Linked DNA regions of Homo sapiens: regions 1, 2, 4, 5, 6 and 7 are each linked to region 3. Evidence: promoter capture Hi-C in 16 types of primary human blood cells and fetal thymus (Javierre and others, 2016). All regions are on one chromosome and are shown on one strand. Each heading gives the region's core, a stretch centred on a gene start or on the middle of the fragment in contact. The rest is flanking DNA. Distances are from core to core; before and after follow the strand shown. Region 1 overlaps MUC19 (mucin 19, oligomeric (gene/pseudogene)). Region 2 overlaps REDIC1 (regulator of DNA class I crossover intermediates 1). Region 3 holds the start of SLC2A13 (solute carrier family 2 member 13). Region 4 overlaps REDIC1 (regulator of DNA class I crossover intermediates 1). Region 5 overlaps SLC2A13 (solute carrier family 2 member 13). Region 6 overlaps SLC2A13 (solute carrier family 2 member 13). Region 7 overlaps SLC2A13 (solute carrier family 2 member 13).

Region 1 (3,364 bases), core at 491-2,990, 360 kb before region 3:
ATGAGTACAGCAAGTCCAATTGTTTTTCAGAATACTTTGCATAATTGACTCTTCAGGATTAATTCTTCCAGGTATATGATAGGTTATTTCACTACATAGATTTAGGGGTTTTTTTCTAAATTCAGAATGTTTTTCCTTATTTATAATTTTAAATATTAGTTCTGTTTCATTGCTTTTTCTTCTCCAGATAAGGCAATAATATATCTTGGATACTTTTGTTTGTTTCCTAAAACTATATCATTCTCTAGCCCATTATACCTTTTCTGAAAGTGTCTGCAATATTTCAGGGGTAGGGTTTACCTCTTCTCAGCTCTATCCTCTAATATCCTTGCTGTATTTTCAGTTTTATTTATTCTCAATGGAACACCTTGCTATTTGGTCTTTTGAGATAATTTTTCTTTTTCTTCAATTTTCTCCTGGGTTTTCACCAATTCCAATTTAACATTCCTGCTGTTTATCTATTTCCAGTCTTAATTTTTAATCTGTAATTTTGATGTATCTTTGTAGCTGCGGTTGTTTCCTTAGTTATTTTACGTTAATGTTATGTTTTTGTATTCTTTTGCTTCATGACTAGATCTTTAGAATTTGCTTGCTATTGATGCAAAGTTTTTGAAAATGTATATAAAGGAATAGCTGTGTATCGATACTGGAATTTCTTTATTATTATTATTATTATTATTATTATTATTGTTTTGTGGGCCAGTAATAGCGGGAGATTCTACGCAGGGGGCAGCAGGGAGGCTTCAGTATACTTCCCAGATTTCTCAGATAAAGGGCTCCCCTCTTACGTTCTTACAGTGAGGGAGCTTCGTTTATAAGTGGCACGTTTTCCTTGTCTGTCTTCTGATGCTTTCATCACTATCTTGTTTTATTGAGACCCTTATTTTTCCATACCTATTTTTTTCCTTTGGCACCCAGGCTCCAAGGGTTGCTCCCCTGTCCAAAGACTTCCATGCATTCTCCAGTACTCTTCCAACTCCATTCATGAGGGCTCTCTGACCTGCCAGGTCCCAGATTTTCTCTCAGCATTTTCCACTCAAGTTGTGGGGCTTTCCTTTTGAGGCTCAACTCTAGTTGATTGAACCACTAGAATCATGGTATTCTACCACTATTAGGACCTCTCTATACTTCTCTATTTTCTGTGATGCCCTTACCTATATTTCAGCCCTATGGTGAGCCTCAGAGCCATCGTTCCCAGTTTTTGGAGTCTGGCTCTTCTCTGTCTCCTCTACACACCGTAGGTGTGGGCTCTGTTTTGATCTTTATGATTTGAAGAAAGAGGTATCTATAGACTCTAATTTATGCAGCCACTATTTTCCTGGTTTTTTTTTTTTTAATTTTTCCATTGGTTTCTTGAGCTTAAATCCTATTCGATTCTACTAGTGTCAGTGCAAATTAAGGATCAGGTTGATACTATGACTAATTAAATTACATTCTGCTTGTGATAAAAGGATTTTTAGTGTGTTTGAATATTTAACCAGGTCATCAGATATTTACAACAGAGATATAATATGTAAGAAATTAGGTTAAGGAAGGTTCTTCACAGATTCAGCTTACTCACTTGCTTCATTTCCAGAGACGAATTTAGGGTGAACTATGTGTAATAAATGGTGCTTTCAAGTCCTTCTACTTGAAGACTATAATCATTTATATTGAGAACATGTGTGTAGTAGGTCATACCTGCTTGGCTATATAATATAAAAGAGTGAAATATCTCTCTGACTTTGCAGTCTCTTAACAGACTGCCTCTGATGTGCATCATATTCTGTTTTAATGCTTATTCAATAATAAACCTATATTTTATTCTGTACTACCTTTGTGCAGGGGGTTCTGGATTCGAAGAACATTTTGTTTTTAATCCTCCTTCCCCAAAACCTGAATAACTACTTTTTATTCCCTTGCAGTTGGATAGATTCTTAAAATTTCACTCAGCTTCCTTGTATTTTGAGTTTTTGTTCAAGTTGAGGCATACAGACACAGCTTGTAGTGCACTGATTATAATACATTCTTTTCAAAATAGAATAATTCTGTTGTTTTAATCAAATTAATCAGTCACTTTACTAGAATTGCCTCTCAAGTCTTACTCCAATGCGTGTCATTGAACAATTCCTCCACTTTGATTATCTTTTGCCTTGCATGGTTTTGCTTTTGTGTGTATTATAAATATTAATTTCTTTTGCTCAGAAATGAAGTTCTATGAGAACAAATACCTTACTCAACTCCTCTTTTATGTTGTCTGTATCCCCCAGGATAATACTGAACACACAACAAATATTTCTTGATTTATTTCTGATCTTCTGCAGTTTTGACATTACACAAATAATAATAATTAAATTCCCCAGGAAAACTTGTCTCCGACAAAATTTTAATTTTGTAATTTAAAAAAAATTACACTTCTACTGTCTAGATTTATTCTGATTATGCTCTTTCCATACCCAATGCTCCAGAAGTGTTTTCACCAGCAGCTCCAGTGGTGGCTACATTTCCCCATTCAGTTGTTCCTAATTGAAAAGAGCAACAGTGCTCAGTCTGCATCAGAGTTTTCAAAATCATGAAATAAAAATACAGGGCACCCAGTTAAATATGAATCCAAGACAAACAATAAACACTGTGTTTTGATTATTGCATGGGACATACTCATTCTAAAAGAACTGTTCCTGATTTGTGTGAAATTCAAATTAACTGGTTTCCTATATTTTCTCTGGCAAGCCTAGTCTACATAAAAGGTTACAATGAAGTAACTCTTTGAACAAATTTCAGGGTTTCTTTAAAGAGGTAGGTGGTCTACTTAAACTATCCATGATCATTTGTTGTAAAATTACATCCCTTCTAAATTCACTTAAACTTATAAGAATCTGAAGTTCCAACTAGGTTTCTGACTCACCACCACTAAAGTGACCAGGTGAGCCCGGGCTTGGCCTGGTGAGTTTCCCAGGTGGACTGGAACCAGTGAAAGATGTTTTAGCTGTGATTTCACTGTCAGATCCAGCAGTAGATCCAAGAGACTGTCCTGTTACACCTGACAAACACAGTATTGGGAGTGCATATACATTATTGTGACAACCCAGTGCCATAGTAGTTTTGAAGGAAATATTTAGAGAAAGCATAAATTAAAACTTTTCTTGAAAAATGTTAATAAGTTATATACCATTCTATCTTTTGTTGGATGGCATTTATACTTAGTGAAATTTGCAGAGGTCTGATGAAATATTGTCCTTTTCACCAAAAGCCACAGCCTCGGAATGACATCCTCTACTCACCTGACATGCCTTCAGATGATGTCGCTTCACTGCTTGTGGCTCCAGTTTTTCCACCCACTGAGGGTCCAGTAGTTCCTTTCAAAATAGACAATAAATATGTATCA
Region 2 (3,369 bases), core at 332-2,831, 430 kb after region 3:
GCTCCTGTGTTAGGTGCATATGTATTTAGGATTGTGATATTTTCCTGTTGTTCTAATCCTTTTATCATTATATAATGTCCTTCTTTGTCTTTTTTAACTGTTTTTGCTTTAAAGTCTGTTTTGTATGATATAAGAATAGCTACGCCTGCTCGCTTTTGGTTTCTGTTTGCATGGAATATCTTTTTCCACCTCTTCCCCTTAAGTTTATGTGAATTCTTATGTGTTACATAAGTCTCTTGAAGACAATGGATACTTGGTGGATGGATTTTTATTCATTCTGACACTAAATGCTAAAGTGAAGCATTTAGGCCATTTATATTCAATGTTAGTATTGACATGTGAAGTACTTTTCTATTCATCATGTTAGTTGTTGCCTGGATATCTTGGTGTTTTTTTTTTTTTCATTGTGTTATTGTTTTACAAGCCCTGTGAGATTTCTGCTTTAAGGAGGTTCTATTTTGGTGTATTTCAAAATTTAGAACTCCTTTTAGCATTTCTTGTAGTGCTGGCTTGGTAGTGGTGAATTCTCTCAGCATGTTTGTCTGAAAAATACTTTATCTCACATTATGAAGCTTAGTTTCAATGGATAGAAAATCCTTGGCTTATATTATTTTGTTTAAGGAGGCTAAAGATAGGATCCCAATTCCTTCTGGCTTGTAGGGTTTCTGCTGAGAAATCTCTTGTTAATCTTACAGGTTTTCCTTTGTAGGTTACCTGATGCTTTTGCCTCACAGTTCTTAAAATTCTTTCCTTTGTCTTGACTTTAGATAACTTGATAACTATTTACCTAGGTGATCATCTTTTTGTGATGAATTTCCTGGGTGTTCTTTGAGCTTCTTGTATTTGAATATCTAGATCTCTAGTAAGACTAGGGAAGTTATCCTCGATTATTACCTCAAATAAGTTTTCCAAACTTTTAGATTTCTCTTCTTACTCAGGAACACTGATTATTCTTATGTTTGGTTGTTTAACATAATCCCAAATTTCTTGAAGGCTTTGTTCATTTATTTTTTATTAATTAGTTTTTCTTTGTCTTTGCTGGATTGGGTTAATTCAAAAGCCTTGTCTTCAAACTCAAGTTCTTTCTTCTACTTGTTCGATTCTATTGTTGAAACTTTCCAGTGTATTTTGTATTTCTCTAAGTGCATCTTTCACTTACAGAAGTTTTGATTGTCTTTTCTTTATGACATCTATTTCTCTGAAGACCTTTTCATCCATATCTGGTTTTTTTTTTTTATTTCCTTAAGTTGGTGTTCTCCCTTTTCTAGTACCTCCTTGAGTAGTATATTAATCAACCTTCTGAATTCTTTATCTGGCAATTCAGAGATTTCTTCTTGGTTTGGATCCATTGCTGGAGAACTAGTGTGGTCTTTTGGGGGTGTTACGGAAACTTGTTTTGTCATAGTACCAGAATTACTTTTCTGGTTCCTTCTCATTTGGATGGACTGTCTCAGTGGAAAGGATCTGGAACACAGGGGCTGCTGTTCAGATTCTTTTGTCCCACAGGGTGATCCTTTGATGTGGTGCTCTCCCTGTTCCCCTATGGGTGGGGCTGCACATGAGCCAGACTGCAGTGATTGGGTCTAGCCCCCCAGTGAGGCTATCAGGCTCCAGGTTGGTGCTGGGTAATGTCTACAAAGAGTCCTGTGATGTGATGAGGTGATCCATCTTCAGGTCTCCCAGCTGTGGATACCAGCACCTGCTCCAATGGAGGTGGCAGGGGAGTGATGTGGACTCTGTGGGAGTCCTTGGTTGTAGTTTTTAATGCACTGGTTTTCTCAAATGCTGCTTATGCTAGCAGTGAAGTTGTCACATGAACAGACTCAGGACCTCTGGATAGCCAGGATGTTGCACGTGGTAGAATTAGCTGTTGTTTTCTCCTTCTTTGGAGCAGGCTTGTTCTGAGTTGCTATAATGGACTGAGTTGGCTGGCCTCCAGCCCAGAGGTGGCACTTTCAAGAGAGCACCACCTGTGGTAGTAGAAGGGGTATGCAAGTTTGCCCTACATTGGCCAGGATAAATTTTCAGGTTTCTCAAGCAATAGGTGGGGCCATAGAGTTCCCAAGAGTTTATGTCTTTTGTCTTTGGCTACCAAAGTGGGAAAAAAAAAATCAGGTAAGGGCAGAGTTAGAAAGGTCTGTGCTCAGACCCTCCTTGGGCAGTGCTTGCTGCAGCCACTGTGGGGGATGGGGGTGGTTCTCAGGCCAATGAAGTTATGTTCCACAGAGGATTATGGCTACCTCTGCTGCATCATACAGTTCATCACTGAGAGAAAGCCTCCGGTGATAGGCTTCTCTCAGCTCCCACACAGCAAGTAAAGCCTGTCTCACTCTCATCATGCCCACCAACAGTGCCAAGTTTACATCCAGGCAATGGGCACACAGTGCTGAGATCTTGCCCCAGGCTATGAGCCTCCCCACTAAGAAAGCAAGCAGGGCTCCCAGGCCTTGCCCCTCCCTGTCTACCCACACTGTTGGCTGCAGCTTCTGCACTCATATCTGCATTTCCCATTCGCACCCCACCGCCAAGATTCTGCTCATGAAAATTCATGCTTAGTCAAAATTATTACAGAGTTCAGTCAGAAGCTTCTTTCACCCTGTGGCCCCTCCTCAATTCCACTGGGTACCTTCCCCAAGGACCCCTGTGAGAGAAGGCCAGGGATGGCTTCCCTGGGCTCAAGCTGGGGACCAGGAGTGTCTACAGGGCTCTTCCAGCTGCTTCTTCCACTTTTATATTTTGCTTAGCTCCCTACTTCCATTTCAGCTCTAGGGATGGTTAAATCCTTCTCCCATGATCTGGATTTCTGGTTCCCCAGTGGAGATGTGTGTTTGGAAGCAGGCTATCCCCCCCTCACACTTTGGGAACTGAATTTTTTGGCTGTCTCATGGAGTTTGCAGAGCAAGCCACATCTTTCAAAGGGTCTTTGAATTCTTTTGGTTTTCCTGGTATGTTTCTGCAGTGCTTTTTGGAGTAAAAGTTCATGATGTGAGTCTCTACCTGCTGTTCTGTCCAAGTGGGAGCTGCATACTAGTCCTGTCTCTTACCTGCCATTTTCCAAAATCATGATTTTTAAAAGGTATTTTAAGCATCTGACTCAGTGGAATCACTCTCTAAGAGATGTGGACAATACAGAAATGTAGAGTAGTTATTGCCAACAAGAAATTTACAGTATAAAAGAGGAAGAAAAAAATTACAAAGTGACAGGTATTATCCTACAGTCAAATGCTAAAACAGCAAACAGAAGAAAGAAGAGATTCTTCTGCTTGAGAAAAATTAAGGCAGATGGCATCTGATTTGGGAACTAAAGTTGGAAAGGATTCTTACTTCTAGAGATGACAGAGAGCAATTATCCTAAAAAACTGAAAAGAA
Region 3 (3,158 bases), core at 318-2,817:
TCTGAATATTAAAGAGTTCATTGCTGCAGATCTAAAGGCTCTCTCTGTTTAACTGATGCCTGGGAATGACGGTAGAGCCTTGCTTTAAAGCCAGACGATAACATTTAAATAGTTAAGCCGTCTGGCTTCATTAGTTTATTTTTCCTTGTTGCTGGCAAGGAAAGTACTATATTGTAGAGATAATCGTGACTGATAATCAAAACGAAAGCAGTTTTGACAAATTCTAATATAAGTTTTTACTGAAACAGGAATGACAAAATCCTTTTGTCTGAAAGGAAAAAAGTTATAGCTGCATGAAAAATAGGCCCCAGGCTAAGAAAGCTTTTGCTCAAATAAGGGAAATAAAAGAGCAGTGGAATTGTAGGAATAGAATCATATGATGCTTGACTTTTTGCCCTCAGCCTGAAGAATGAAAGCAAATTAGAGGCACAAAACATCTTTAGCAGTCCCAGCTGCTAGGAAGGCTGAGGCAGGAGAATCGCTTGAACCTGGGAGGCGGAGGCTGCAGTGTGCCGAGATAGCGCCACTGCACTCCAGCCTGGGCGACAGAGCGAGAATCTGTCTCAAAAACAAAACAAAACAAAACAAACTATCTTTAGCCCCTGATGCGCAACTGTATATTTTAAAAACATTTAAATTAAAGGGGGAAACAAACCCCAAATGAACCAACAACTGTTAATTCACTCAACAGTTTAAAAAATTGGTTGCAAATAACGTTATCTTTGCTTTGTTTCAAGTAAATGAGGCTGTTAAAACAGTGCCTCATGGAGGGCAACAGTGGGGATTCTCAGGAGAGAAGCTATCCTACCTTTTGGTTAGCATGTTGGGGCGGGGAAATGGAGACTGCCTGCCGAATCACAAATCAGGGTCTTGAGTTTTCTTTCTATTTCTGGGAATTACCCGTTACATGAGTGGAATGCATATATGTGAATTTTCTTTTACAGGTCGGGGATCCATGGAAGGAGGGTTTGGGATTCACCACAGAGATATGTTCTCTGTCCTCAAAGAATCAAATGTACCATTCCTTTAAAATAAGCATAAATTGAGGAGGGACTGGCGATGAGAGTGGAAACTAGCTATAGAAATGGGAGCATGCAGCCCTGAATTGCTCCAGAACAAACACATTTAATGCCAGGGAAGTAGACCACGCTGGGTAATGTCACAATACTATAAAAGGAAGGGTACTTGCTAGGTCCTATTCTAGGATATTTTTTCCAGCCCTCTCTCTAGGCTGCTGGAAGGACAGTGAGGCTGGTTTAGGTGCTCTCTCCCTCCTCTCCAAACACGGCAAACATTCTGGGTGGCTTCCCGTCTGGAAGCCTGTTGCCTGATGGCATCGCCACATTGGCTTGCTCCACCGCTGCAGCTCGGAAGGCAGGGTTAATTCCATACGGTTGCCAGAGCCCTAAATGAGGGAGCCTAGGTCAGAGGTCGCACCCACCGGGAGGGCGGGGTTTAGGGGTCCGGGGCGGGCTGAGCCTGGCCCCGCCCAAGGAGGGGGCGGGACGTTTCCCGGGCCCCGCCCCGCCGGCCCGGGGTTGCACGTGACCCGCGGTCCCGCCTCCCGCCCGCTCCGCAGCGCCAGCTCGGCAGGCGCGGGGCGTGAGTGTGGAGTGAGACCCGCCGGGCTCCAACTCCGCAGCGTCGGAGCGCGGCGGGCAGCAACTTTCTCCCCGGAGCGGCCGTGGCGGCGGCTGCTGCCGTGGCAGCCGGAGCGGAAGCCGGGAGGAAGAAAGCGGCGGCAGCGGCGGTTGCTCCCGCCGGCTCGGGCTGTCTAGCTCGCCGAGACTGCCGGCCCGCGGAGCCGCGTCCCCCCGGGCAGCCCCGGGCCCCTGCCCTATGTCCCGCAAGGCAAGCGAGAATGTGGAGTACACGCTGCGGAGCCTGAGCAGCCTGATGGGCGAGCGGCGCAGGAAGCAGCCGGAGCCGGACGCGGCGAGCGCGGCCGGGGAGTGCAGCCTCCTGGCTGCCGCCGAATCGAGCACCAGCCTGCAGAGCGCGGGCGCGGGCGGCGGCGGCGTCGGGGACCTGGAGCGCGCGGCGCGGCGGCAGTTCCAGCAGGACGAGACCCCCGCCTTCGTGTACGTGGTGGCCGTCTTCTCCGCGCTGGGCGGCTTCCTGTTTGGCTATGACACCGGGGTGGTGTCAGGGGCCATGCTGCTGCTCAAGCGGCAGCTCAGTCTGGACGCGCTGTGGCAGGAGCTGCTGGTGTCCAGCACGGTGGGGGCGGCTGCCGTCTCGGCGCTGGCCGGAGGCGCCCTCAACGGCGTCTTCGGCCGCCGCGCTGCCATCCTCCTGGCCAGTGCCCTCTTCACCGCCGGCTCCGCGGTGCTGGCTGCGGCCAACAACAAGGAGACACTGCTCGCCGGCCGCCTGGTCGTGGGACTCGGCATCGGTGAGTTCGGGCTCCGTGAAGGGCGCCCGGGATCCCATTGTCACCGCCCTTGACCCTGGGTGTTGCGTGCCTCTTGCCCATCGGGGTCCCCGTCTGGTCTCCCAGGGTCAGAGAATCCTCCACTTCTCTGGCCTCCAGAGCCCATCTGTTTGTTGGTCCAGCCTCCAAGGCTCTCCCGGGAGGTGGGAGGGTCGGGGGGGAGGGGGTGTCACTCTAGTCTCCCTCGAGCGCACGTGGAATCTTTGATAGGCCACGGACCAGTCAGTCCAAGTGGTTGTTGCCTCTCAGCACTTCCAGAAACCTAGCTGAGCACCAGCTCTTTCCTTGATCCAGCCTAACCTGATGCTGCTTCTTGAGCTTACGAGGGTCTCTGCTTTCCTGCACTGTCCCACCTTGCCTCTCCACTGCTAGCCCCTTTCGTTTTCTGGGGCTCCCAGCCTGGAACCTAGACCATCGTCAAGTTACAGTGAGATAATATTTAGAGTTAAGTAATTCTGGACTCTGAAAGGTTTATTAGCGACCCCTGCCCTCTTTGCTTATCTAGCATTTGTCTTTAGATGGCATCTCCTTTTGCTTTTATGCTTTTTCTATTGCCTTTCAGCTTTCATTCTTTTCCCAAGTAAATTCCATTCTCCTCTGTTTTTCCAACTTTTTCATTTGAATCCTTTTTTATCCATTCTCCTCTTTGTTTTTCCTCTCCTGCTTTCCAGTTGGGAACCAAATTATCTATTAAAGGTCATATTCACTTCCTTAATTCATTTAG
Region 4 (3,503 bases), core at 560-3,059, 460 kb after region 3:
AAAATTATATTAATACTAGATACAGACATTTTTATGATAAGGTAAGTCAAACAAAGTGTACAAAATCTGGATCATTTGATGAAGGTCTTAATCATTGCATAATACTGTTAACAGCCAAACAAACAAAAACTGGGGGTAGAAGGTAAGTATTTTATACATTTTCGAGTGAGTAAAAGTGTTGTTAATAACCAGTTTAAACACCTAATAATATAAATCCTAGCTAAAACCTACTTGGTTTCTGTATCATCAAGGCAGAGTTTAGAAGGTACACAGTGAGGCGACATTGTAAGTTCTAAATTATGCTTTCTTAGGGGCATTTTTATGTCTCTATTCATGTTCACATGGGTTGGTTTTCTCACAGTTTCTATAATAAAAAATATATAATTATAATTTTAAAATAAGAATAAAAAATTGTAAAAGTACTGTTTAATAAATCATGTTCATTACATAAACATATATCTAAGAAATTTTACTAAAACATTTACATTCTATCAGTGCTAAAATAAATCATTACAATATAAACAACTATCAGAGACTTTAAAACATATTCATCATCTTATATATTCCTCATTATAGCTGCCCTATTAATTTAGTTCTACTTTTTCTTCCACCAAGATTTCTATGATCTCCAGACTAGATTAGTTACTATGTTATATATTCCCACAGTACTATATATATTTTCCCTTTCTCTGGTCAGTACTTTCACCTACTCTATTTTTGTGATACACCCACCCAAACTATATACATAGTTATAGTGTAGATTTTATATCTTCTTATAAAACTCTGCCTCAAGCCAGGCATAGTGGCTCATGCCTGTAATCCCAGTTACTAAGGAGGCTGCAGTTGGAGGATGGCTTGAGGCCAAGAGTTCAAGACCAGCTTGGGCAACACAGTGAAACCCTGTCTTTAAAAACAAAACAAAATAAAAGTCTTGTCTCTCTGGATAAAATAATTGATTTGGCAGTAGCCATCTGACTAAAGGTGAACCAATAATCGTATCCCATTCTGCTAGTTATAAGCAAAATTTTTTCACTGTGAGATTGGTACCAGTAGCACAAGGAAATATTCTTACAGTGGAATTTTAAAATGTGGGACCAGAGAAACAACTCTCAGTATTTCCTTGGTGGCAAAACTAGAGAAGGTGAGTAATATTAGTTTCTTAAGGCCATGTTTTGAGCCTCAATGATGAAGACAGTCTGAGAGAATAAAGTTAATGACTGAAGTGAAAAAGAATCTTGATAGTATTCAAGTCCCTGTTTCAAGTCATCTCTGAGGCCCACTGCACCATCACTCTTCCTGTTAAAGGAGTAAAAAGATAACTGTTTTGAATTTCTGTCATTTGCAGCCATGAGTCCTGATTAGTAAAGCTTGCTTTCTGTTTTATCCTCAGCACCCAGTAGAGTACTTACAGTGGGTACCCAATAAAAATATGCTGAAGAAATAAATGAAAAGAAAGTGCAGGAGTTCAGGCCATTATCCCAAAATAAGTCATCTTGCTATTTAAGAAAACAGCAGAAGCAGGAAGGTTACTCTCAGCTTTCCCCTGAAGCAGGTCATAAAACCCTCATTCGAGAAGTGCTCTGGTTATACTTGGAAGAAAATAATATCCCTATCTCTGAAGACGCAGGGTCACAAAGAAGAATCTGAACAAAGAGGCCTTGCTAAGATCCCCTTAGTTTATTACTATTAGATCATTCTTTTAAAAATCCAATCATACTTCTTGAGGACCATCCACTTTTTCATCAAACCTGGCAAGAAAAATACACAAGTTTAGCCATTTCTTCCAATCTTAAGATCTTAAATTTCTTATCAAGGCTCTTGTGTCACATAAAACTTACTAAATAAATCTGTATGTTTTTCTCCTGTTAATCTGTCTTTTGTTATTGAGGGTTTAGCCATAAACCTAGCAATGGATGAGGAAATATATTTTTATTCCCCTACGACTGGGAATAAAGGTAAATACATCAAAAAGATTTACAACAATAAGTTTTATTCTCAAAATCCATGAACAATGTATTTATTCTTTCTAAAGTATAACTAAATTTACTTGTGTAAACTGTTATCTGTGGAGGGAGAAAAAAAATGACGGAGAAAGGAAATGAGGAAATATTAACAATACTCTGATCAATTTCTATCCCTTCCTGATAAATTGTCTTATTTTTATGCTCTCATTTTTAGCAGTTGTTTTAAAAATTAAATATCAGACACAAGTTCCTCTAAAAGAGGAAAAATATACTCTAATTAAGCTTTTTATTTACTTGAAGTATCAAAATATATGACAAAATGGACTTTATTTTGCAGTATTAGACTTCTATGATTAACATCCCAGGAAAGTGTAATAAATAATTCAAGTGATGACATAGGAAACTAGTCATTGAAGCAAAAATCTTTGCAGATCTTCCTTTCAGACATACCCTTTAAATAGTAAAGAATAGTTAATTTGTTGATATGTATTAACATTTATTCCCTGCTCTCTAGCTAAACTTTGGTAACTACCTGCCTGTATAGAATAATGTAACAACTGTACTATAATAAGTTTAGTGACACCTAATAAATTAATTTTATATAACACATACACAAAATAAAAATAAAAATTGGATTAAGCAACAAAACGTTTTAAGCAGATATTAACTAGGCATCTAATTTAAGAGAGCAACCAAATTTTAAAATTAATTTTCCACATGCTTTGAGCTCAAAAATTACAAACTAATTAGAAGACTAAACATTATTATGATCACATCAAGTTCAAAACAGAATGCAATTGGAATGACTTACCAGGAATTTTCTTCTTGCAAGATATCTGATTTACCATATATAGGTTAAGAATGTCTAAGCTGACAGCAGAATTTTTGACAGGAGATAAAACTCCCAGTGATTTCATTTTTGATTTTAACCTGTGTTTTTCAAAATATTCCTAAAATAATTAAAAATTAAAAACAATGCAGCAAATATGCGGTTTTAGACAGAATTATAAATAATAAAAAAGCAATCATGTTATTAAGTCATTGACTTGATACTTTTATATTTTGTGACATCTTTATATGTTTATAAATACATTACAATTAATCATAACTTGCAGTTTGCCTAAAGACTAAATTTCACAGCCTTTTATCATCTTCCTTAAGCATAACCTTTAAAACAGAATGCTATAAAGCTATTCTCTGAAATCAAAAGATTAGAAATTATCTCTATATAGAAAGTTAAAAAAATCTGGTAACAGAACAATTCTGACAGGCTAAAATCTTGTTCTTGTTTTTCTACAAAGTATGCTATTCTGCAGACATAGAAAACCTTAAAAATATGCACAGCTGAGTGCCATTAAAAGTCAACAGAAATGAAGAAAAAAAAAGCTATGTGCAAATTAATCTGCAACCAAAGCCAATTTCGTTTATTTGTTATCCCTCCATGATTCCCAGATGTTTGTTTTTTTAACAAGACTTGCACATAATTATCACTTTATCCAGTTTTTATTTTCTTTCTGTTTGAACTGTTATTATTCTTTC
Region 5 (3,395 bases), core at 826-3,325, 350 kb after region 3:
TTAACAACAAAATAATATTGAAAATATATTAGAATAACTCACAGATCCAGAAGTTGGTGGAAATGGAAGAATGTTTTAGAAAATACCATCCATATGTTTATCTAAGAAAGTCTCAGAATTTAGTGACACTAATACAGTTCATAAATACTGTAATACAGTGGAGAGAGTTGGAATGTTATTTTGGTTTTATTTCATCAGCACAATTATTAAAAACAACAAAATTAATGAGACGTTTTGTTATAATCAGATTTTTTTTTACCATATTGCAAGTTATAAAATGTCAACTTATACTAAGTACCTAACAACTGACTTTTATTCACTTGTTGTGACAAGTTTTTAATTACCAAATTAAGACCTTTTCAGTATCTATGAGTAAAAGAAATAGATGATTATATCAGACCAGGAGCAGAGAATTTATAATATGTGCTTTATAGCAAAATGTATTAAATTGTGGTTAAAATTTATAGCTCATATGTAGCTGCTGCCAATAAGAAGGCTCAGAATTGTTCTGTGGATTAATTTTTACATCCTGTTTTCTGTCACTTTTACCAATCTTCTTGGCCTCATGTACAATAATGTAAAGCCAATTTGATGAAATGGTTCAGGTTGTAGCAGTCTATAAATTGTCGGTACATTCAGCTCTTCTAGGTGAGCAATACTGCTGCTATTTTTCTAGAAATAGCAATCATTTAAAAATGCCAAATAGCTAACTGCTACCAACTCTTTCTTGTATCTTGTCTCTTTAGAGAAGGAAATTTTTGTGTGCCAGTAATCATCAAAGAGGTGTTTTATAAGAGTGTTGATGTTCAGAAGTTCATGAAAGTATTTTATCCGTATAATTTGCTAGTGAGCTAAAACAATATAATTTATGTAAATCTTTATATGTACAAAATATATAGTCTGTTGTACTTGAGTAATTTGGTCTATGGAATTTTAAATGCCTTCATTTAGCAGTAATATTCACATTTTTATTTTAGACAGTTAAGTTCATGTGTTTGATTTTGTCATGTCAGCATAAATGAGAAAAAGAAGTGGATCATGCAGCTAATGAGTAACCAACATTTTGTAAAGTTTTAAAGTTTTAGCAAACAACATTATTCCATCTCATTTAAAGGTTAAAAAAGAAGAGACAACTCTAGCCAAAGTAGAAATTTATATTCTACACGTCCAAACTGTCTCCTAGCAGCTTTTGGACTATATATCACTTGATGTTAAAGTATCTTTTATTTGTAATAAATATTCAAATTTCTATTTAGAAGCTCTAATGTATACCTAGATTAAATCAAATCACAGTTTTATGCTTTTAAAATATATGTATTTCAAACTGTATATTTTAATTTCTGAGTGCATGTTATATAGTATTTAATACTTCAGATGTCTTGGCAAATTCAATATAAGTATTTATTCCCACAAGCGATATATGGGATATCTCTTAAAAATTATGAATATGTACCATTTCCTTCAAAGTCATCCTAGCCTATGCTGTATCAAAAGTATTGTATATTTTATGGAGATTTAGTGATATACATGTAAATGTTTTTTAAGTTATTTTATTGAAGTTCAATCTTTACATAAAATTAAAATCTTTTTTTAAAAAAAGTGTCAGTGCCAGAACTGTAAATGAAAATAATCAAATAAAAGTTAAAATAATTCATTACTCATTAACTTCCCTTGCACTTATTTATTTTTTCTAGTTATCTTCCTTGGATGTAGGTTAGATGATAGTTAAAGCATCTAGAAAGACAATCTACCTCTATATATTAATGCAGTCCTACTCATTTTAATGATATTTTATTTCTTTTGATTATGGATATGATAAATCATCTTTTAAAAATATTTTATAATACCTAAAAATTGTTCTAAAGAATTATTCTAAATACTGAATATAAAACTGTGAAATGTGGTGCTTAGGAACCCTTGAAGTAATAATTATAGTTATTGTCAGAACCAGATGTTGACATGAACCATTAAGTTGAGTTGTCAAAAATTATCTTTGGTGGTGGTTCTGTAAGTGAAAATGAACAATCGTGCTGGAAGGCCAGTTGACAGTTCTTTTTGGGACTCCGTTGCTCTCCCTTGCCATTCTGCCTCAATCATAGCTATAATTAGCAAATATACACTTGTTTGATATTGGCAGTTGCTAGACACGTGTCCATAATTAGTTGTGTGTCTTCCTGAGCCTGACTTAGAAATAGCCCAAGGAGATCTTCTGAAGACTCTAGACCTACTGTCATTCAAAGGCTTACAGTTGAGTTACATCTAACTAAGGTTCTTAACGTCAGCAGGTAAGGCAAAAATCCAAGTCAAATGACCCTTGAAAATCCCACGAATTACACATAAATTGTCCACTCACCTGAATAACGGACACCTGAATAGTGCAGAACATGTCAGTATCAGTGGGCAGAAAAATCCTCATTTAATTGTCCAATCCTGTGGAATAAACATTGTCATCCTTTTCCAGGTACTAAAACTTAAGTTCAAAACATTTTTGTCACTTGCCCAAGATCACACTAGAAAGTCATAGAAAACTCTTCTTTGCAGTGACTACACCAAAAGTCTTCCCCTCTATGTCCTCCTTTGGAACATCTTTTCAGACCCAGGCAGATAGATTAAAAACAGAAAGAAATTGTGGAATCCTTGCATTGTAAAAGAGTGCATATGGATTACAGGAACAAATCCTGAAAAATCTTCATTTAGAGACTCTTGTCAAATGTGAGGCAATATAATGCATTGTCTAAGAGGTCAGACTGAATTCAAATCATTTAGATTTGAATCCCAGCTTTTCAACTTACTGCCTAGTAACCTAAATTACTGAACCACTCATTGCCTCACTTTCATTGTCTATAAAATGAGATGCTACTACCGTCTACCTCACTTGTGTGTAGTGAAGGTTATCAATGAATCATGGAAAGCAAGTAGAGCAGTAGCATATAGTAAGGACTGGATAACTGTTAGCTTTTGTTTTCATCATCCATATCCTATCCCTGATGCTACTAAGGTCACAATGTTCAAAGCACAGGCAATTTGCTTATAAAATCCTTTCCTGAGAACAACTACTAGGAACAGGAGCACATTGGCTTCTTTGACATATGTCCTCCCAGCTCAGCTGACCAGAATGATTTGAGCTGATCTGGCTGACTAGCCTGATGTCCTTCTTCCTTTCTCCATCTCTTTTCCATATGTGTCCTCCTGAATGGCAGTTGATGAAAAGAACAACCTTCCCATATTCTCCAGATTAACAGGATTTAATACACAATTTCTGTGATCTCACAGTCAAGAAATAAAAATAAGTTTAGAAAATCAGTAATCTCTCATTTAAAGTCTTTTCAATGTTTTAAAAAGTAATTTTTGAAACCTGATTCAAACAAAAACCGTGACATTAACCCTCTCTAATT
Region 6 (3,184 bases), core at 186-2,685, 330 kb after region 3:
ATGATTTATAGATAAATAATATTTTATTCAGGAAAAAAGTGGCTTTTTGCTCCAAATTTCTAAGGCTTTTGAAATTTACCCATATCTATGATTTAATTGTCTCAATAAAGACTTTTTTATTAGAAAATAATAGTAATTAACAAAAGAATAGGTTTTTCATCTTGTCTGTAAATGACAATCTTCTGCAGGAAAATTACAAAACCAAAAAAAAAAAAAAAAGGCTGGACAATGGGAAATCATTCAAGGGCAGGATTTTCAACATGGTCTCCACACTGCAAGCTAGGAAACCATACTTTTCTAAAATTATTCAAAATCACAGAGATGTTATTAGAGTTTAAATGCTATGTGGCCACCCTTGACATAAGTTTATTTCATTTTAGATTATTAAATAGGAAATATGCCTACTGAACAATAATTAAAAGTATCTGAGAAGTAATGGGCCAAGTTTGTAACAGTAACTTTTCATGGTTGCTTTGAAGGGATGCCCGGAAGTTAGAATTTCTTATAACTTGGGTTGCTTAGAGTAAATTTACACCATCCTAAATCTCTGGTTGGGAATTAGGATTTTGCTTCTTTAGTTCTCCTCAGATAAGAGTGAAGGTGTCCTATCCTGGAGAGATACTCTGTGCTTTCCTAGGTACGTTTTCACCACTACCCTCAAATTGTAATGGTGTAATTATATCATAAATTTCTATCAATAAAGAACTATTAGGGTTAACTTTCTATCAACAAAGAACTATTAGGGTTAACTTTTAGAGGGATATCTATGTTTTGAGGTGATAGCTTAGGGACCTTGTCCAGAAAAATCACAGTCCTGCGTCAGGAACTGGAAATAAAATCGTGCTTCACTGACACTCCTCAGTAATGAATTAGCAAGCTTGTGCAGTAAGCCCAGTAGAACGATGGTAGATGTGTCACACGAACTGTAGTAAGCTCTCCCCTTTTCTAAAATTCTGGATCTTTTATAAACTCTTTGGGAAGGGAACTAAGTTTCATACATTTATCAGTGATTAGGACTCAATATATGAAGTTGGAAGTTTTGGTTTTTATACACAGGTCATATTTCTTTTCCTCTACTCCCATATATAAGCCTGGAGCAGTCAAATTATTTCATCATGGAGAATAAAGGGGCAATATAGACAGCATGTGCTGTGTAGGAAGCAAGGAATATACTACTTATGGCTAACTAGCAAGAACAGTTGTATATTTGCACTGCTTAAGTTCCTTTGGTTATTTCTTAGGTTTGAAACTCTAAAGATAAATGATGGAGAGGTAACATTTTAAAAGGCAGAAATAGATCTACGTATGAACTAGGTTTGGTGGGTGTTGAGTGGGCAGGGGAGCATTGTTCCACCTTCAAAGGGAGCTGTTAATTTCTACATGTTATTACTAAAGGGAGTTCTGTGTATTCCATGATTGGAACAGGGAACCGATTATTTATTTGGTCTGTATATCAGGTTTTAGCCTAGTCATTCTGCTGGTAAGGATTAGTTCTCTCACTCAGCCAAAATGAGACATATTTCACCTGATTGCATGCAATTCTGCTGCTTTGTCCACTGCAGTGCCCTCTGAGCAGCTTCCCATTATTGCAGTCATTTTCAGGTTTTGCTCTAGGATGTGGTGAAAAGGTGCCACATCCAAGAGCATGACTTTTTCTAATCCCAGCCCACACACTGATGTCAAAGTATTTTTGTTCCTTTTCGGGAGCATTATGTTCTTCTACCAGCAGTTGCCAGGAAAGCATGAGGATATTTTGCAATAATGTTTGAAATCTGCATTTTTATTTTTTAGTTGGTATTTCTAGTGTTTATATTTTGAAGGTCAGGTGTGATGTCACATTCTCAGTCATTAGCTATCTACGTATTGCTGAGTATGTAACTCTGCCAAGTTAGTGCCTGCAGTGCCTTCCCAAAATCAGCATGAGGATGATGAGGAGCTACTTGGCCTTTTTTTTGCACATGTAAACGTGCATAGCCAGATGGCAAAAAGCTTCATCAGGGCAAGCACAGAGTCCACTCTAAAGTATCCTACTTCATTGCCACAGCAGGAGATCACCCTAGGAACTGTGATAATAACGAAAAGAGTAAATAGAAAATTGTTCAGTGAATCTTAGTTATTTCATTATTTGTAAGTATTCCTCCTTACAGGAGCCTGCCTACCTGCCTGCCTTTCTTTTTTCTTTCTTCTTCTCTTTTTTCTTTCCTTTCCTATTTTCTTAAATCTTCATGACTCAAAAGACTATTTCATTGCTGGGGATTATTGGTCAAGGGACATCTAATGCTGTTTTCTACTCACAATTAAACAAATGCAAATGTAAAAGCTTCATCATTCAAGGAACATTTATCTCTACATAGGGTATTATGATGGACAATAGGTTGAGATTTAAAAAAAAAATAGCACGGTGATTATTCTTTTGGCAAGCCCTTATAAATTGCTTTCTATGTGCCAAGCAGTTATCACCTTGTTTAATCTTTGTAACAACCCTATATGGACTCTTATTTTACAAGAAAATTGAGACACAGAGAGGTTAAGTAACTTGGCCAAAGTTACAAAGCTGGTAAGGGAGAGAACTGAGATACAAACTCATGCAGTCTGACATTAGACCCTGTGCTCTTGACCCTTGTGCCATGCTGTACTCCCTGGGATGAAATCTCAGTACCGTAGAAGAAGGAGTATATTAATATATGACCATACAGAGCACTATATGATAATGACATAAATGAGGAAAGTGAAAAGGAGTTGAGAGGAGGAGAGAATATCTCGGACAGGTGAATGGGTAGCATCCACACAGGCCTTGGGTGATGAGGTAGGAATTGATGGTAGATACTGACAGTAGATATCAAGAGTAAGAGTTTGCCTTCAGTTACAGGAAACGTCATGAGTAGGAGATACTGGGTCTAGACTGTAGGTTCAGAAAATAAGTAATTTAGTTTAGTTGCATAAAAGGATTGTGTACAGGAGTACAAGATAAGGTAGGCTGCAGCCACATTTTGCAGGCCATTTTGTAGACTGCTGGAATAAGGAGGATGGAGGTTTTTGAGCAGTGAGGTGGTCAGGGCGCTTAACTTGGTGGCATATGAGTTTGAAGAAAGGAATGATAGGAGCAGGAAAATCAGGAAACTGTATTCATTTACTACTGCAACACACATTAATAATATAGCACTTCCTGTGGGTCAGGAATGCA
Region 7 (3,266 bases), core at 647-3,146, 290 kb after region 3:
TTACTTGATACAATAAAGATCAGCTAAAGCCTTCTTGTGTTGTTCTTAAAGGAATAGATGTTTTCTCTTTACTCTCTATTTGGAAAAAGTTTAGGCTAGTTTTTAAAAACAGTACAAAGAGGAAATTATAAGTACATAATTCATTAAGTGTCTTTCATAAGCTTATTCCTCCTAAGCTATTACACTTGCTGTCTACATCTGTAGCTCATTTCCTGGGGAGGTAAAGCAATGACATTAAAACTCCAGCAGTACAATCTACATCAGAATGGTTGATTAACGTTTTGAAGTATTATCCCCAGACCTCACATTTTAAATTAATTTAATTCTTAATTATCACAAAGAAAGAAAAGAGTATGGGCAAAAGTGAAGAGAATATTCAGAGCAGTTTTCCTCGTCTTGAAAGATATGATTATAGTTTTACAGAATTTGGCAATACAATATAGATGAAGTAATATACGAAATCACTCATACTGGAAATTGTCCAAGATTGAAACTTTCGAAATGTGGAGTTATCCAAGATGTGACTGTGTAGGCTTCAGACAGTTTCCAGGAATGACATTCTTCAGCGTAAAATGGAAACTCCAATTTTAAAATGCCTGTGTAGGGGTTCTGTTCAGTTAATATTCCCAATTACATCTTTTTAATTGCTATTTTAAATTTTAAATCAAATGGAACTCACATTGAGATTGTAGATGGTAGTGGCTGCAGCCGTGTTTCAAGTCTCCCTGAAGCTTCTTCATCCCCCACTACTCCAATAAAAACAGACAGTTGGCAAGGAATGGGCCTTATTTGAATCTTGATTCAAATGAACTGAAAAAAGTCACTTAAAGACAACCAGGAAAGTGTGAACAGTGATTGGCTGTTTGATGTTCTTAAGAAATTATTGTTAATTTTTCAGGTGCAGTAATCATATTGTTATATATTTTTTAAGTCCTTGCAGAGATACATACTGAAATAGTAACAGATGAAATATGGTATCTGAAATTTGCTTCAGAGTAACCCAGGAGAGGTGGATTAAGTGACAATTTAGATGAAATGTCATTGGCCATGTGTTTACAGTTGTTGAAAGTTTGTTATGGGTACATCCGGTTAATTATACTATACTCTCTACTTTTGAATATATTTGAAAATATTTGTAATAAAATAAAATTTTGATGTATGTCAAAATAAATGCTGACCTAGATCAAAGACAAAAGTATTTTTAAGATAGCTAAGAAACAAACAGAATAGATAAAATGGAATGCAAAAAATATCTAATTAATCCAATAAAAGAAGTTTTAAAGGGAGGGCAAAAGTAATACTATAGGCTGGGCACAGTGGGTCACGCCTGTAATCCCAGCACATTGGGAGGCCGAGGTAGGTGGATCACTTGAGGCCAGGAGTTTGAGACCAGCGTGGCCAACATGGTGAAACCCCATCTCTACTAAAAAAAAAAAAAAAAAAAAAAAAAAAATTAGCTGGGCATGATGTCAGGCGCCTGTAATCCCTGCTACTTGGGAGGCTGAGGCAGGAGAATCACTTGAACCCAGGAGGCAGAGGTTGCAGGGAGATCACACCATTACACTCCAGCCTGGGTGACAGAGTGAGACTCTATCTCAAAAAAAAAAAAAAAAAGGTAATACTACAAACTAAATGTTTGTCCCCCCACCCCCTAAAGTCATATGTTGAAATTAGAAACCGCCAGGTGCAATGACTCACGCCCGTAATCCCAGCAGTTTGGGAGGCTGAGGCAGGTGGATCACTTGAGGCCAGGATTCGAGACCAGCATGGCCAACATGGTGAAACCTCATCTCTACTAAAAATATACAAATCAGCCGGGCGTAGCCGTGGGCGCCTGTAGTCCTAGCTACTCAGGAGGCTGAGGCAGGAGAATCGCTTGAATCTCAGAGGCGGAGGTTGCAGTGAGCTGAGATTGCACCACTGCACTCCAGCCTGAGCAACAGAGCAAGCATCTATCTCACAAAAAGAGAGAAGGGGAGAAAGAAAGGAGAAAGAAAGAAAGAGAAGAAAGAAAAGGAAGGAAGGCAGGAAGGAAGGAAGGAAGGAAGAAAGAGAGAGAGAAAGAAAGAAAAGAAAAGAAAAGAAAAGAAAAGAAAAGAAAAGAAAAGAAAAAAGAAATTAGTCCCAATGTGAGGATATTTAGAGGTGGGGCCTTTGGGAGGTGATTAGGTCATGAGGGTGGAGTCATCATAAATGGGATAAGTGCCTTTATAAAGGGGCCCCAGATAGATTCCCTCTTCCATTCTACCATGTGAGGGCACAGATGAAAGATGGCTATGAACCAGGGAGCAGACCCTCACCAGACACCAAATCTTCTTGTGCCTAGATCTTGGACTTCCCAGCCTCCAAAACCCTGAGAAATAAATTTCTTTGTGTAAGAGCCATCCAGTCTGTGGTATTCTGTTATAGCAGCTTAAACAGACTAAGACAAGTAACAAAGTTGTTTCTTTTATGAGATAACCATAAAAGAAACAAATTAGAGATTTAAACCAACTCTATTGGTAAACTATGTTAAAATAAATTGTTTAGAAACTCCAATAAAAGACAGAAACTCCAGTAAAAGACAGAGTTGTCCAATTAGACATGAAAACAAATGCAACTGTCTGCTGTCTAGAAAAATGGGGATGGAAACAGACATACTGTACTAACACTAATCATATAAAGCTAGAGTGCTTTTGTTAATATTTGACAAAGACTCCAGATTAAGGAATATTATCAGAGATTAAGAAGGATGGCTTATAATAAAGTGGCCAATTCATCAAGACATACAATTCTTAAATGTATATTCCTCTAATAATAGAGCTTCTTAGAAATCAGTAAAAAAAATTTTCACAAAAATTACTAAATATTTGAATATTAAACAATACATTTCTAAATAACCCATGCTGTAAAAAAGGACATCACAAGGTAATTAGAAAATGTTTTGAAGTCAATGAAAATGAAATTATAACATATCAAGAACGTCAGGGGACAGCTAAAGCAATACTTAACAGCAAACTTATACTTTAAAATAAGTATATTAGAAAATTTTGAAAGGTTTAAAATCAATTACCTAAGCTTACAATTATGAAGCTAAAAAATGAAGAGCAAGTAAAACCCAAAGTAATTAGAAGGAAAGATATAATGGTAGTAGGAAACAATAAAATAGAAAATGTAAAAGCAATAGATGAAGTAAATGAAATCAAAAGGTAATTTCTTGAAGAGATCAATAAAAAGCAGATTAAGTCATAGCTGGACTCGTTTAGGGAGAAAAGGAGACCCAACTT

What was found. The method cuts DNA at HindIII sites, captures the fragments that hold promoters and counts their contacts. A CHiCAGO score of 5 or more calls a contact.
Region 1: a contact is called between a fragment that was not itself captured here and the fragment with the promoter of SLC2A13 in region 3, in 1 of 17 cell types (neutrophils). The highest score is 5.3, in neutrophils.
Region 2: a fragment that was not itself captured here is called in contact with the fragment with the promoter of SLC2A13 in region 3 in 3 of 17 cell types (non-activated CD4 T cells, total CD8 T cells and naive CD4 T cells); the score reaches 8.3 in non-activated CD4 T cells.
Region 4: a fragment that was not itself captured here is called in contact with the fragment with the promoter of SLC2A13 in region 3 in 5 of 17 cell types (naive CD4 T cells, non-activated CD4 T cells, naive CD8 T cells and 2 more); the score reaches 9.6 in naive CD4 T cells.
Region 5: a contact is called between a fragment that was not itself captured here and the fragment with the promoter of SLC2A13 in region 3, in 1 of 17 cell types (M2 macrophages). The highest score is 7.6, in M2 macrophages.
Region 6: a contact is called between a fragment that was not itself captured here and the fragment with the promoter of SLC2A13 in region 3, in 10 of 17 cell types (M2 macrophages, M1 macrophages, erythroblasts and 7 more). The highest score is 9.0, in M2 macrophages.
Region 7: a fragment that was not itself captured here is called in contact with the fragment with the promoter of SLC2A13 in region 3 in 1 of 17 cell types (M2 macrophages); the score reaches 5.1 in M2 macrophages.

What each region holds. Positions count from the first base shown.
Region 1 is chr12:40,465,110-40,468,473 of GRCh38, reverse strand. It overlaps MUC19 (mucin 19, oligomeric (gene/pseudogene)), which reads right to left. Exons shown (of 172, transcript NM_173600.2): 49 at 3,261-3,335; 50 at 2,885-3,019; 51 at 2,436-2,501. Among named protein-coding and RNA genes, the nearest start is that of MUC19, 73 kb to the right of the region's middle. The HindIII fragment of the contact is 3,597 bases long and covers 1-3,364 here.
Region 2 is chr12:39,674,061-39,677,429 of GRCh38, reverse strand. All of the region lies in intron 7 of REDIC1 (regulator of DNA class I crossover intermediates 1), which reads right to left. Among named protein-coding and RNA genes, the nearest start is that of REDIC1, 50 kb to the right of the region's middle. RefSeq lists a silencer at 1,499-1,689. The HindIII fragment of the contact is 2,013 bases long and covers 575-2,587 here.
Region 3 is chr12:40,104,490-40,107,647 of GRCh38, reverse strand. SLC2A13 (solute carrier family 2 member 13) reads left to right here and starts at 1,567. Exons shown (of 10, transcript NM_052885.4): 1 at 1,567-2,395. The coding sequence starts at 1,840. RefSeq lists silencers at 1-32, 1,414-1,663, 1,684-1,943, 1,964-2,033, 2,044-2,133 and an enhancer at 244-413. The HindIII fragment of the contact is 3,714 bases long and covers 324-3,158 here.
Region 4 is chr12:39,643,190-39,646,692 of GRCh38, reverse strand. It overlaps REDIC1 (regulator of DNA class I crossover intermediates 1), which reads right to left. Exons shown (of 13, transcript NM_001031748.4): 3 at 2,776-2,914; 4 at 232-364. Among named protein-coding and RNA genes, the nearest start is that of REDIC1, 19 kb to the right of the region's middle. The HindIII fragment of the contact is 879 bases long and covers 1,370-2,248 here.
Region 5 is chr12:39,753,291-39,756,685 of GRCh38, reverse strand. It overlaps SLC2A13 (solute carrier family 2 member 13), which reads left to right. Exons shown (of 10, transcript NM_052885.4): 10 at 1-1,661. It also overlaps a transcript of REDIC1 not described here. Among named protein-coding and RNA genes, the nearest start is that of REDIC1, 130 kb to the right of the region's middle. The HindIII fragment of the contact is 9,809 bases long and covers 1-3,395 here.
Region 6 is chr12:39,771,620-39,774,803 of GRCh38, reverse strand. The region is part of intron 7 of SLC2A13 (solute carrier family 2 member 13); the gene reads left to right. It also overlaps a transcript of REDIC1 not described here. Among named protein-coding and RNA genes, the nearest start is that of REDIC1, 150 kb to the right of the region's middle. The HindIII fragment of the contact is 1,112 bases long and covers 880-1,991 here.
Region 7 is chr12:39,811,184-39,814,449 of GRCh38, reverse strand. All of the region lies in intron 7 of SLC2A13 (solute carrier family 2 member 13), which reads left to right. It also overlaps a transcript of REDIC1 not described here. Among named protein-coding and RNA genes, the nearest start is that of REDIC1, 190 kb to the right of the region's middle. The HindIII fragment of the contact is 2,326 bases long and covers 734-3,059 here.